Linked DNA regions of Homo sapiens: region 1 is linked to region 2. Evidence: promoter capture Hi-C in human tissues and cell types (Jung and others, 2019). All regions are on one chromosome and are shown on one strand. The core of a region is centred on a gene start or on the middle of the fragment in contact, and the rest is flanking DNA. Distances in the headings are between cores, read along the strand shown.

Region 1 (5,996 bases), core at 3,009-5,508, 220 kb after region 2:
CCTCTCACCAGCCTAGCATTGCCTCGGTCAGACTTTTGGGAGTTTCTTCCCAGTGACTACCCTTCTCCCACTGGCTGCAGGCCAAGGTTCCTAGTTTAGTGGATTCTGCAAAGATCTGGAGAACAGTGGCATCTAAAAGCCACACGTGGCTCTGCTCTCCCCAAGGACCTGCAAAGCCCATCTAGTCAGCTTTCTCTCCTCTGACCGGGAAGTCTTGCTTCTCTCATTTCTCCCGCCTTCAGTCTGATCTCAGAGCACTCTGCCGGGCCTGTCCTCACACTCCTGGTGTCGTCCCGACCCTGCCTGCACCACATTGTCCCATTCCCTCAGACTGCCTACTGGTATTCCAAGCAGGGGGCTTGGTGAGTTCAAGGCAGGGAGGAGATATATGGGCTTGTGGGGTCAGCCAGGTTGAAGTTCTTGTGCTTTTGGAATGAAAATATCCACATTTAGGCTTGTCTTGGTGGTGCTCCTTCCTCCCATCCAGGGTGCCCTGCCTCTTTTTCTTTCTTTTCTTTTTTTTTTTTTTGAGATGGAGCCTCACTCTGTCTCCCAGGCTGGAGGGCAGTGGTGTAATCTCGGCTCACTGCAACCTCCGCCTCCTGGGTTCAAGCAATTCTCCTACCTCAGCCTCCCGAGTAGCTGGGTTACAAGCACATGCCACCGCTCCCAACTAATTTTTGTATTTTTAGTAAAGACGGGGTTTCAACCCTGTTCGCCAGGCTGGTCTCGAACTCCTGACCTCAGGTGATCCACCCACCTCGGCCTCTGAAGGTGCTGGGATTACAAGCGTGAGCTACCGTGCCCAGCTGCGTCTTTTTCTTTTCTTTCTTTCTTTCTGTTTTTTTTTTTTTTTGAGACAGGTTCTCACTCTGTTGCCCAGGCTGGAGTGCAGTGGTGCAGTCATGGCTCACTGCAGCCTTGACTTCCTGGGCTAAAGGGATTCTCTCATCTCAGTGCCCGCTCCCTGCTCCCAGTACCTGGAACTATAGGCATGTGTCACCACACCTGGCTTTTTTTTTTTTTTTTTTGAGATGGAGTCTTGCTCTTATCGCCCAGGCTGGAGTGCAATGGCACAATATTGGCTCACTGCAACCTCCGCCTCCCGGGTTCAAGCGATTCTCCTACCTCAGCCTCCAAAATAGCTGGGATTACAGGCACGCACCACCACGCTTGGCTAATTTTTTGTATTTTTAGTAAAGACGGGGTTTCACCATGTTAGCCAGGATGGTCTCGATCTCCTGACCTCGTGATCTGCCCGCCTCGGCCTCCCAAAGTGCTAGGATTACAGGCTTGAGCCACTGCGCCCGGCCATGCCTGGCTCACTTTTTAATTTTTTGTAGAGAAGGGAGTCTCCCTATGTTGCTCAGGCTGATCTTGAACTCCTAGGCTCAAGCAGTCCTCCTGCCTCGGTCTCCCAAAGTGCTGGGGTTACAGGCGTGAGCCACTGCGCCCGGCCTGGGGCAGAATTTAAATTGTACTGGCGGATATTTAAGTTAGACTGCCTTGTAAGGACGCTTCAGGTCAATTAAAAGAGACAATAAGGAAGCAGGACCTGGTCATGCGGTGAGTGCTGCTCAGGCAGGCGGTAAACTTTGCTCTCTACCTCCCTCTGGTGGTCAATTAAGGTAGTGATGGACAATGATCACCTCTGATTTAGAGACCAAGCTTGTGACTATGTAGGGTTGTTAGGAGACAGGGATCAGGAGAGAGAATTGATTTAGGAGAGGAAGCCCCAGGCACCTGCCCCGTGGGACCATTGCTGTCTCTCTGACCCATAGAGTGCACTGCAGACAGACACAGTCATTGGGACAGGGCATTATTTCCTTACTCATTTTCCCTTTTGTTATTGTTTTTGTTGTTGTTTTTTGAGACCGAGCCTCACACTATTGCTGGCTGGAGTGCAGTGGCACAATCTCGGTTCACTGCAACCTCCGCCTCCCAGGTTCAAGTGATTCTCCTGCCTCAGCCTCCCGAGTACCTGGGACTACAGGTGCGCACCACCACACCGGGCTATTTTTTGTGTTTTTAGTAGAGGCAAAGTTTCACCACATTGGCCAGGCTGGTCTCGAACTCCTGGCCTCAAGTGATACACCCACCTTGGCCTCCCAAATTGCTGGGATTACAGGTGTGATCCACTGTGCCTGGCCTCCTTTTTATTATTGTTGATTTCCCCCTCAGCATGGGGTCAGAGAAAACAGAGAAAAGTAGATTATGGGCGTTCATGGAAGTCACAAACTCTGGCCAGAATGGGAAGAAGCTGGCACCCTGCGAGTTGGGAGGGCAAGGAGAATGTTGTAGGATTTGGAGCCTACTTGAAGGGTGCAGGATAACTGGAGCATTTGCAAGAAGTGATCCCTCACATGAACATATTCCCAGACCTGCCCTGAACAAAAGGAGGTGGAATGGTAATGGTTAGGGATGAAGACAGGCTGGGCTGGGGCATGACTGCCTGGTGGAGGCGCAGGAATAATGCTTCCTAGGGATGCTGTGTTTTATCTCTCATATGGGAGGTTGGATGTTTGGGGGTGCAGATCATAGATTGTGAGCTATACTTCCATAAATTCTCCTTTCTGAACAGAGTAAAGCTCCCATACTCTTTCCTTATTCTCTAAAAAGCTTTAATGTTTCTTCCCAAATTCCCAAATCAGCTTTGGAGTCCAAGACCTCCCCAGACTCTGGCTGAACAGACATCAGTGTTCAGCTCTAAGTGTGTCAAACTCAGCATCCAGCTTCAAGGTGTCAGCCCTCACTGCCCCCACCCCTCCACTGCCAATCCCCCTACCCATCAGCCCTGTCTGGGCAAGGAGGCCACTGCCAGCCTCCAGCCCAAACCCAGAGAACTCTCTTCTGTCAGGTGATCCTCCCAGCAACCCACCTCTTCCTGAGCCCCTGCTGATGCACGGGAGCATGTGTTGGAGCTTTTCTGTATTTTTTTTTCTTTTTCTTTCTTTTTTTTTTGAGATTGAGTTTCGCTCTTGTTGTTCAGGCTGGAGTGCCAATCTTGGCTCACTGCAAACTCCGCCCCCCGGGTTCAAGCGATTCTCCTGCCTCAGCCTCCCGAGTAGCTGGGATTGCAGATGCGCGACACCACACCCGAATAATTGTTGCATTTTCAGTATAGATGGGGTTTCACCATGTTGGCCAGGCTGGTCTCGAACTCCTGACCTCAGGTGATCCACCCACCTCGGCCTTCCAAAGTGCTGGGATTATAGGCATGAGCCACCGCGCCCGGCCACTATTCTGTATTTTCACCAGCTCCCCTAGGCTTGTCCTCAAGCCCCATCCTGCCTTCCCTAGCCATGGGCGGGCAGGGCTGGGGATCCCTGATGAATAAAATATCTGGAGAGCCAAGTGTTGTTGGCCAGCACCCGAAAGATGGAGAGGCTGGCTTACAGGACACAGAGCAGTGTCAAGGCATTTGGCTCCCAGGTGTAAGGAGGATCTGTCTCCTTGGTCTCCTTATATGTCAAGGCCACAGAGTCCCATCAGGGCCTGACCACTTTCAGCTCCTCACCTCAGAACCCCCTGAGCAGCTCAAAGTAAAGACAGAAGGGCTCCATCTCTCCCTGAAAGAAATTCTAGTCCAGGATGGTTTCCATCTGCACAGTGGAGAAAAAGCATCACAGGATGCTTTGCATTTAGGGAGCCACCAACTTCAGAAGTGGTCTGCAGTAAAATTGTATTTTATTATCTGTCTGTCTGTCTGTCTGTCTGTCTGTCTATTTTTGAGACAGAGTCTTCCTCTATCGCCCAGGCTGGAGTGCAGTGGCACGATCTCGGCTCACTGCAGCCTCTGCCTCCCAGGTTCAAGCAAGTCTCCTGACTCAGCCCCACAAGTAGCTGTATGTACAGGAACATACCACCATGCCCAGCTAATTTTTGTATTTTTAGTAGAGATGGGGTTTCACCAGGTTGGCCAGATGGGTCTCGAACTCCTGACCTCAGGTGATCTGTCTGCCTTGGCCTCCCTAAGTGCTGGGATTACAGGTGTGAGCCACCATGCCTGGCCTGCAGTAAAATTTTAAATTTTAATTTTCAGTAAAAATTTAAATTTCAGCCCCTGTCGCTGTTCTGCAGTGAGCAGATATCTGCAAACCTACCCCCAAAGGCCAAGGGAATCGAAAGGCCAAAGAAGGAGACTGACAGGCCAGACGTGGTAGCTCACGCCTGTAATTCCAGCACTTTGGGAGGCCGAGGCGGGCGGATTATTTGAGGTCAGGAGTTTGAGACCAGCCTGGCCAGCATAGTGAACTCCCATCTCTACTAAAAATACAAAAATTAGCTGGGCGTGGTGGCAGACGCCTGTAATCCCAGCTATTTGGGAGGCTGAGGTAGGAGAATCGCTTGAACCCAGGAGGCGGAGTTGCAGTGAGCCGAGATCACGCCATTGTACTCCAGCCTGGGGGACAACAGCGAGACTTCGTCTCAGAAAAAGAAAGAAGAAAGAAAGAAAGAAAGAAAGGAAAGAAAGGAAAGAAAAGAAAGAAAGAAAGAAAGAGGCTGACAAATCCAGCTTCTTAGAAAGAAACATTTAATAGGGACTTATGAACAAAAGTGGTTCCCCACACCTGCTGTCCAGAAAATATCTTTTCTATAACAAGCCTTTAGAGTGAAACAGGTGCAGCCAGTCATGGCTCAGACTGTCTTGCAAAAGTCATGGCCACTGGGGAGGTTAGATACACATCTATATGAGGGATTATCTGTGTTACAGGCATTGTTGCTTTATGACGGGTTGGTATGGTTTCGCTGTGTCCCCCACCCAAAATCTTATCTTGAATTATAATCACCATAATCCCCATGTGTTGGGGGTGGGACCGGGTGGAGGTAATTGAGTGATGGGGGTGGTTACCCCTATGCTGTTTTCATGATCATGAGTGAGTCTCATGAGATCTGATGGTTTTATAAGTATCTGGCATTTCCCCTGCTTGCATTCACTCTGTCCTGCTGCTCTGTGAAGGTGTCTTCTTCTCTTTTCCTTTCCGCCATAATTTTAAGTTTCCTGAGGCCTCCCCAGCAATGTGGAACTGTGAGTCAATTAAATGTCTTTCCCTTATAAATTACCCAGTCTCAGGTATTTCTTCACAGCAGTGTGAGAATGGACTAATACAGGGGTTATCTATGCTACAGGCATTGTTTAAGGACTTTGCTGCCAGAATCAGGAATCCAATACCAGTCACCATGGCAGTTTTGCTTCAAGGTGGCATCACACTGCCATTCTTTTACTTTTTATTTTTTATTATTTCCTATATTAAATAGAGATGGGGTCTGGCTATGTTGCCCAAGCTGGTGTGGAACTCTTGGCCTCAAGCAATCCTCCTGCCTCGGCCTCCCAAAGTTCTGGGATTGTAGGTGTGAGCCACCGCACCCAGCCTCTCTTGCTATTCAACAAGCTATTTTATTACAGTCCCCATCCTTGATCCCCCCTCTGTCTGTTAATGCTAGAGTGAAGCAGAGATGGGCAAGGATTAAGAATCCGGAGACCTAAGTTCTGTAGAGAGTTCTGCTAAGAGCCTGCTGTGTGGCCCTAAAGTCTTGTGTGCTCTCTGGGCCTCAGACTGCCCATCCACAAGTGTGGGGGTGGAGCTGGATGAGCTCAAACTCAATTTTCTCCTCGTTGTCATCCCCCAGGTCCCTCTCCAGCTCCACCTATTGGGAAAGGATCCCCTTCTCCCTGGACATGGCCAGCAGCTGCTGTTGCACCTCACTCAGCTCTGCAGAGGGTAAAGGAGAGGAAAGGGCATGAGGGACACGGCATGCTCTCCCTCCTTCTGTGGGCAGGGCATTGTAAAGTGGCTCTGGGGGCCGGGTGTGGTGGTTCACACCTGTAATCCCAGCACTTTGGGAAGCTGAGGGGAGCGGATCACTTGAGGTCAGGAGTTTGAGACCAACCTGGCCGTGATGGGGAAATCCCATCTACTAAAAATACACAAATTAGCTGGGTGTGGTGGTACATGCCTGTAATCCCAGCTACTCGGGAGGCTGAGGCAGGAGAA
Region 2 (5,946 bases), core at 2,479-4,978:
CCCTCTTCCCCTCCCCATTTCCCACCTAACAGCTTTGAGTTCTAACTAGGCAGGTGGGAACCAGCCTGATTAAAAGGGAGATGGAGAGACTGCCATCACTTTGATCCCAGAACCTTTAAATAGAAATCCTGTGTCCTTTAGGGGCCCAGAGACAGAAGGGTTAATGATGGAATGGTGAAGGGGAGCGGCTCCTCTCACCACCCCTTTCCCCTCCACACCCCCGTCTGGGCCTGGCTCAGCCAGTCAGCCGGGTACAAGGTCGCCCTGACTTGCAGCCAGCCCTGGGGTGGGGCAGGGCCACCTGGCACACACAGACAGACAAGGTGCAGGGAGGGAGCCAGGTGTCCTCACCAGGACTGGTTAGGGCCAGGTCCCCAGGCACTGTCCCAGGACAAAACCAAGGCTTCTGACTCCCCTTGGTTCACTATCTCCTGTGGTCAGTTCTAGCCATGCAGGCGGAGGAGGAAAACCAACACAAAGTAATTGACTTCAAGGATTTCATTTCGCAAATGTGAAACTGAGGCCCAGAGCTGGGAGGGACTTGCCTGGAGCTGGAATAAGAACCCAGAATCCTGAGTCTTTGTCCTTTTCTCAATATGCCTGAGGCAAGCAGAGTGTTAGGGTAAAACCTAGCGGTCAGAGGGGGCTGCTTGGACGTTGGAGAGGCTTTGGTAGGTTCAGAGTAACTTCTGTAAGTTCTCTCCTCCCACACACCCTGGGAGGAGACCAGGATGACTTGAGAACATTGGTTTTATTGGAGAACATCAGAGTGGCAGGTTAAGCTGATTCTCATTCACCTGGGACTGGTTTGGAATTTCCCAAACTAGTTACTCTGGGGATCCAGGCTGCCAGATAACATGGGTGACATTTCAGGAGTCTTACCCCAGGGGAGAATGAGCGGAGCGTGTGGCACCAGGCCCCTGTAAAAGGGGAAAGACAGCTTCTCCCTTTTCCTCCCTGCCCAGCTACCCTGCTGTGTTCTTACAATGAGTCAGAGAGCCTCCAGCTCTGACCCCCAGCTTCAGGGATGAGGGTGAGGAAACGAGAGGCCTGACATCCTTCATAGACTTTATCTCACAGGATTCCTAAGCTGGAGCAAAGGAAGAGTAAGATGGGGCAGAGTTGGGGAGATGCTGATATGGGGGCCACAGTTGGGCATCTGTCTTTTCCAAAGCAGGCTCTGGGCCAATGTACAGCCTCCCTAGGGAATGTGTCATAGAGACACAGGGTGTGTGGTGTAGGCGGGAAGTTATGGTTAGGAGAGCTGTGTGTGTCTGATATTTTTCTAATTAAATCCAAAAGGTGTCAGCTCCCCAGGGCAACTACAGCCTGCTCCAAAGGAGAGGACCCAGGTCTTGAGAAGGATCTAGGAGAGTGGAGCCCCCCTCCACACATCTAGGTTGGGGTTCCCTGCCGAGGGCTGAGAGCAAGTGTGAAAGCCCTCACCATTAGGGCCTCAGCCGGGGCTCCCAAACCTCAGACCCTCCTGGGCTTAGAGTAATGCCTAGAGCTAGACCTAAAGAACCCTCGGTCTTCTACCTCAGAACTAACCAGATTTGGGGCCTTGGTTTCCTCAAAGGCCCCTTAGTAGGGGTGCTGAAAGGGAGTGGTGAAATAGTATCATCATTTAGGGAATAAGCTTCTCAGGGTGTGGTGATTATATTTTAAAGAGGCCGTGTGCCAGGTCCGGTGGCTCACGCCTGTAATCCCAGCACTTTGGGAGGCCGTGGGGTGGGGGTGGGGGGAGGTAGATAACGAGGTCAGGAGTTCAAGACCAGCCTGACCAAGTTGGTGAAACCCCGAAACCCCGTCTCTACTAAAACTACAAAAATTAGCCAGGCCAGTGGCTCACGCCTGTAATCCCAGCACTTTGGGAGGCCAAGGCAGGTGGATCACGAGGTCAGGAGTTCGAGACCATCCTGGCTAACACGGTGAAACCCCTGTCTCTACTAAAAATACAAAAATTAGCCAGGCGTGGTGCCACATGCCTGTAGTCCCAGCTACTCAGGAGGCTGAGGCAGGAGAATCGCTTGAACCTGGGCGGTGGAGGTTGCAGTGAGCTGAGATGGCGCCACTGCACTCCAGCCTGGGTGACAGTGAGACTACATCTCCAAAAGAAAAAAAAAAAAAAGCCGGGTGCTGAGGCCTGCCACCGAAGGGTGGAAGCTGGAGGCGCTTGGACACCCTGGATGCTGCAGGGCCATGATGCCGGCCCAGCCACCTCTCCCCTCCCAGACACCTTCTGAGTCCAGCCCAAGGAGAATACTATCCCCCCCACCAAACTGCTAAGGACAACGCATCCCTTTGCTGATGCCTAAAAGGCAGCTTGGGGCCTGTGCCTGTCTGGCACTGCCTCCCTGGGTGGGTCAGCCTGCGCTGTGTAGGCCTCTGAACAGTCAGGGACCCCAGGGTTTTCAGGGCTAAAGCACCTCTGGCGGGTGGCATGGCTGCGCTGGGCAGCTCCCATTTTAATGTGTCAGGCCCTAATTTGGGGCCACAGGAGGAGGTATTCAACATCAGGGACCCATGGGAGTCAGTGGCTCCAATGCCCAGGGGAAAGGAAGGGTGGCTGAAGGAGAGTAAGAGGCTCAGCTGCTTCTCCAGACGAGGGTGAGGCTGCTGTAGGGAGGAAGGTGAGTACTGCTCTCCTCTTCCGCGGGAGGGTCTGTACCTCCGCTAGGCCCCTAGCCGGCTTCCGCGGACCACTCAACCCTATAACCAAGCCCCGGCACGGCGCCACCCCTACGCTCCAAGGGCAAGGAAGAGGAGCCGGGGCCAGCCCCTGCTCTGGGTGTTCGAGCCCACCGGCTCCTTACCTGAGGCGGCGCTGTCCCTGGTAGCCCCTCCAGCAAGCCGCTCCAGAACCCGGTTCAGAAGATGCTCGGGCCGCTCGGGGGCGCCCAGAGGGGCCCAGGGCGGCGAAGTCAAGGGCTCGCCTGGGGACAGCTCGTCAGATGAGTAGGAGGAAGGGGAGCGCAGGGGCCCCCCTCCCCCGAGAGGCCCGGGCCCCGGCACCTCCTCCAGCTGCAGCCAGCAGGGCCCCCCGCTGCCCGGCTCCTCCGCGACCCCCGCCGGCTCTCCTCCTTCCTCCTCAGGGGGCGGCTCCAGCCCCGGCTCGGCGGGGGGCTCCCGGAGGAAAGCGGGGAGCAGCAGGCGAGACACGCTCTGACGCCGCTGCAACGACCGCTGTCCCCCGGCTGGACCGCCGCCCCCGCCGGGTCCCCCACCCCCTCCAGGCCCACCGCAGCTCCCCAGACCCCCGCCGGGACCTCCCGCCACCGTTCGGCCCGCCAGCTGCGACGTCTGCTTCTTCAGAAATTTCTCCAGCGGCTTCATGCCCCCCCCCGCCCCTCTCCTAGGGGTCGCCGGGGGACCCAGGTATCCCAGGCGCGGGCGGGGGGGGCGGCGAAGACACGATGCTCAGAGCTGGAGGAGCAGAGTAGAGGGCCGTGCCAGGCGCCAGACTGGGGGCCAGAGGGGCCGAGCCTCGCTGGCCAGAGTCCAGTGGCCAGTAGCCGGGGGAGGTGCCAGAGGAAAGGAGTGCTCGCTCTCAGCAACCCCCCATGCCGGCTGCAGCCGGCACGCGGCCCGAAGAGTGGGCAGGCTGCGGGGCCGGTGCGCCCGGCTCTGCGCTGCGGCGGCAGAGGCAGCGGGCGGAGCGCAAGGCTGAGAGGACGCGGCGGCGGCGGCGGCGGCGGCTGCGCTCCTGGCCGTGAAGAGGGGGAAGGTGGCAGAACCGAGACCGCGCCCCCTCCTCCAGTCCCCGCCCAGTCCCCGCCCCTACCCTTCCTCGGCTCGCCCCCGCGCCGCACGAGGCTTGAACTCGCGCGCTGGGGTTGACCGCGAGGGAAACAGTAAGGGACTTGGGTTCTAAGCAGAAGAAATTAAGGGCAAAGGTAAGTCAGAGATTTACCAATGGGGAAGGATTCCTGGCTCAAGGGATAACCGGGTCTCAGCATCATTTCAAAGAGTCAGGACAGGTCTGTGGCCTGGACACCTTCACTCACCTACCTGTGTACCCAAGTCAGGCCTACAGATTGCTGAACCCAAGAGTGTGCACCTTTCTCATACTCACAGAAATATGTGGAGTTTATCTTCCTTCTGTGAGAAGAGCTGGGAAGGCCTCTTGGGTGAATTAGCATTGCCACTGGAGGCGGTGCCCATCTGTCCTCTCTGGTAGGGCACAATAGGTGGTGTGGGCCTGGTCTGTGGGCAGGTACTGGCAGGCAGGTAGGAGCCAGGCAGGGAGCAGCAGGTTGTGGCAGGTCTAGCTGGGGTGAGGAGGGGATAATAGGCAGTGGGGAGGAGACCAGGAGCACAAGGGCACCTGAGCCCAGCTGGCAGCAGAAGGAAGCAGGGCCATGGAGACAGGTGACAAGCCCCAGAACTGCCGACTATCATCAAGCACAGAGCCCAAGTGTACATGGCCATGGAGTGGGAAAAGTGGTGCCAATTAGCACTCCAAGTAATCCTTACTCCTGATGCCCACACCAGGAGCATTCTGTCCTTAAGGATATGCTGCCCCAGAAGGAGTGTGGGGGAGGAGGGGGGTGCATCGTAAAGCCATGCTAAGTGTGAGAACATCCAGGTTAGACTTACAAGGTGTGGGAGTGGCAGCAGGTTCTCGATGGGTTGAGGCTCTCTGGACAATGCCCCACCCCTGTTTACCGAGCACCAACCAGGCAGAGACAGGAATGCTAATGGCTGGGAGTGGTAGTAAAACTGAACAGGGTGTGTATGACATACGTATCAATGTATGTGCATATCTGTTCCCATGTGTGCTAGAGCATGTGTTCACAGAAATAAAGCTTTGCACACCCATCTGTTTGTGGATTTGGAAACAGTAAAAAGAAGACAGCGCACAATTTTGGCTAAGAAGCTGTATTAGAGGTCTGAGTATCAGCTTCCTGTGCTCCCCTTATTGGACACTCCAATATCCCCTGGCTTGAAAGGGGAAAGTGGCTGGAATGGGTTGGAGCTCCCCAGGTAGCATTTTATGAACTGAATAGGAAGAGGGAAGGGCTTCTCTCCCAGCACATGCCACAGTTACCAGATTAAGCCGGTTGCCTTGGTAACCTTCTCTCTGGGCAGGATTTGGGAATTGTTGGTTAGGAAGGGCGAATTGGGGAGTGTGAAGGGTGTAGGGGGTTGAAAATAAAACAGACTGAGAGACTTCTGGAAGCTAGAAGCTTGGGACACAGGACCCCAGTACTCCCCCAAATGCTCAAGGATGTCAGGCAGAGACTAAGTTCAACATTTTGAATCAGTGAGGAGAGCCAGCATCAAGTCATGGTCCTCCTGGAGTGGCAGTGGTTTTCACCCTGACTACACACTGGAATCACAGGGAAGCTTCTCAGAAATACTGATGCTGGCTGGGCTTGGTGGCTCACGCCTGTAATCTCAACACTTTGGGAAGCCAAGGCGGGCAGATCACTTGAGGTCATGAGTTCAAGACCAGCCTGACCAACATGGTGAAACCCCACTTCTAAAAATACAAAAAAAATTAGCCGGGCATGGTGGCACACACCTGTAATCCAAGCTACTTTGGAGGCTGAGGTAGAAGGATTGCTTGAACCTGGGAGGTGAAGGTTGCAGTGAGCTGTTATCATGCCACTGCACTCCAGCCTGGGTGAGAGACTCCATATTAAAAAAAAAAAAAAAATACTGGCCAAGTGCAACAGCTCACGCCTATAATCCCGGTACTTTGGGAGGCCGAGAAGGGTGCAACATGAGGTCAGAAGTTCGAGACCAGTCTGGCCAACATAGTGAAACCCTGTCTCTACTAAAAATACAAACATTTGCTGGGCATGGTGGCTGGTGCCTGTAATCTCAGCTACTCAGGAGGCTGAGGCAGGAGAATCGCTTGAACCCGGGAGGTGGAGGCTGCAGTGAGCCGAGATCATGCCACTGCACTCCAGCCTGGGCAACAAGAGCAAGACTGTCTCA

The links. Contacts are between HindIII fragments. The study calls those that stand out against the background at their distance.
Region 1: a contact is called between a fragment that was not itself captured here and the fragment with the promoter of RAPGEFL1 in region 2, in 1 of the 25 tissues and cell types used here (adrenal gland).

What each region holds. Positions count from the first base shown.
Region 1 is chr17:39,954,738-39,960,733 of GRCh38, reverse strand. No RefSeq gene overlaps it. Among named protein-coding and RNA genes, the nearest start is that of GSDMA, 5.3 kb to the left of the region's middle. The HindIII fragment of the contact is 4,228 bases long and covers 2,145-5,996 here.
Region 2 is chr17:40,175,252-40,181,197 of GRCh38, reverse strand. It overlaps RAPGEFL1 (Rap guanine nucleotide exchange factor like 1), which reads right to left and starts at 3,728. Exons shown (of 15, transcript NM_016339.6): 1 at 2,817-3,728. The coding sequence starts at 3,336. RefSeq lists enhancers at 1,745-2,599, 2,600-3,456, 3,848-4,348, 4,349-4,849 and a silencer at 3,687-3,816. The HindIII fragment of the contact is 8,651 bases long and covers 1-4,999 here.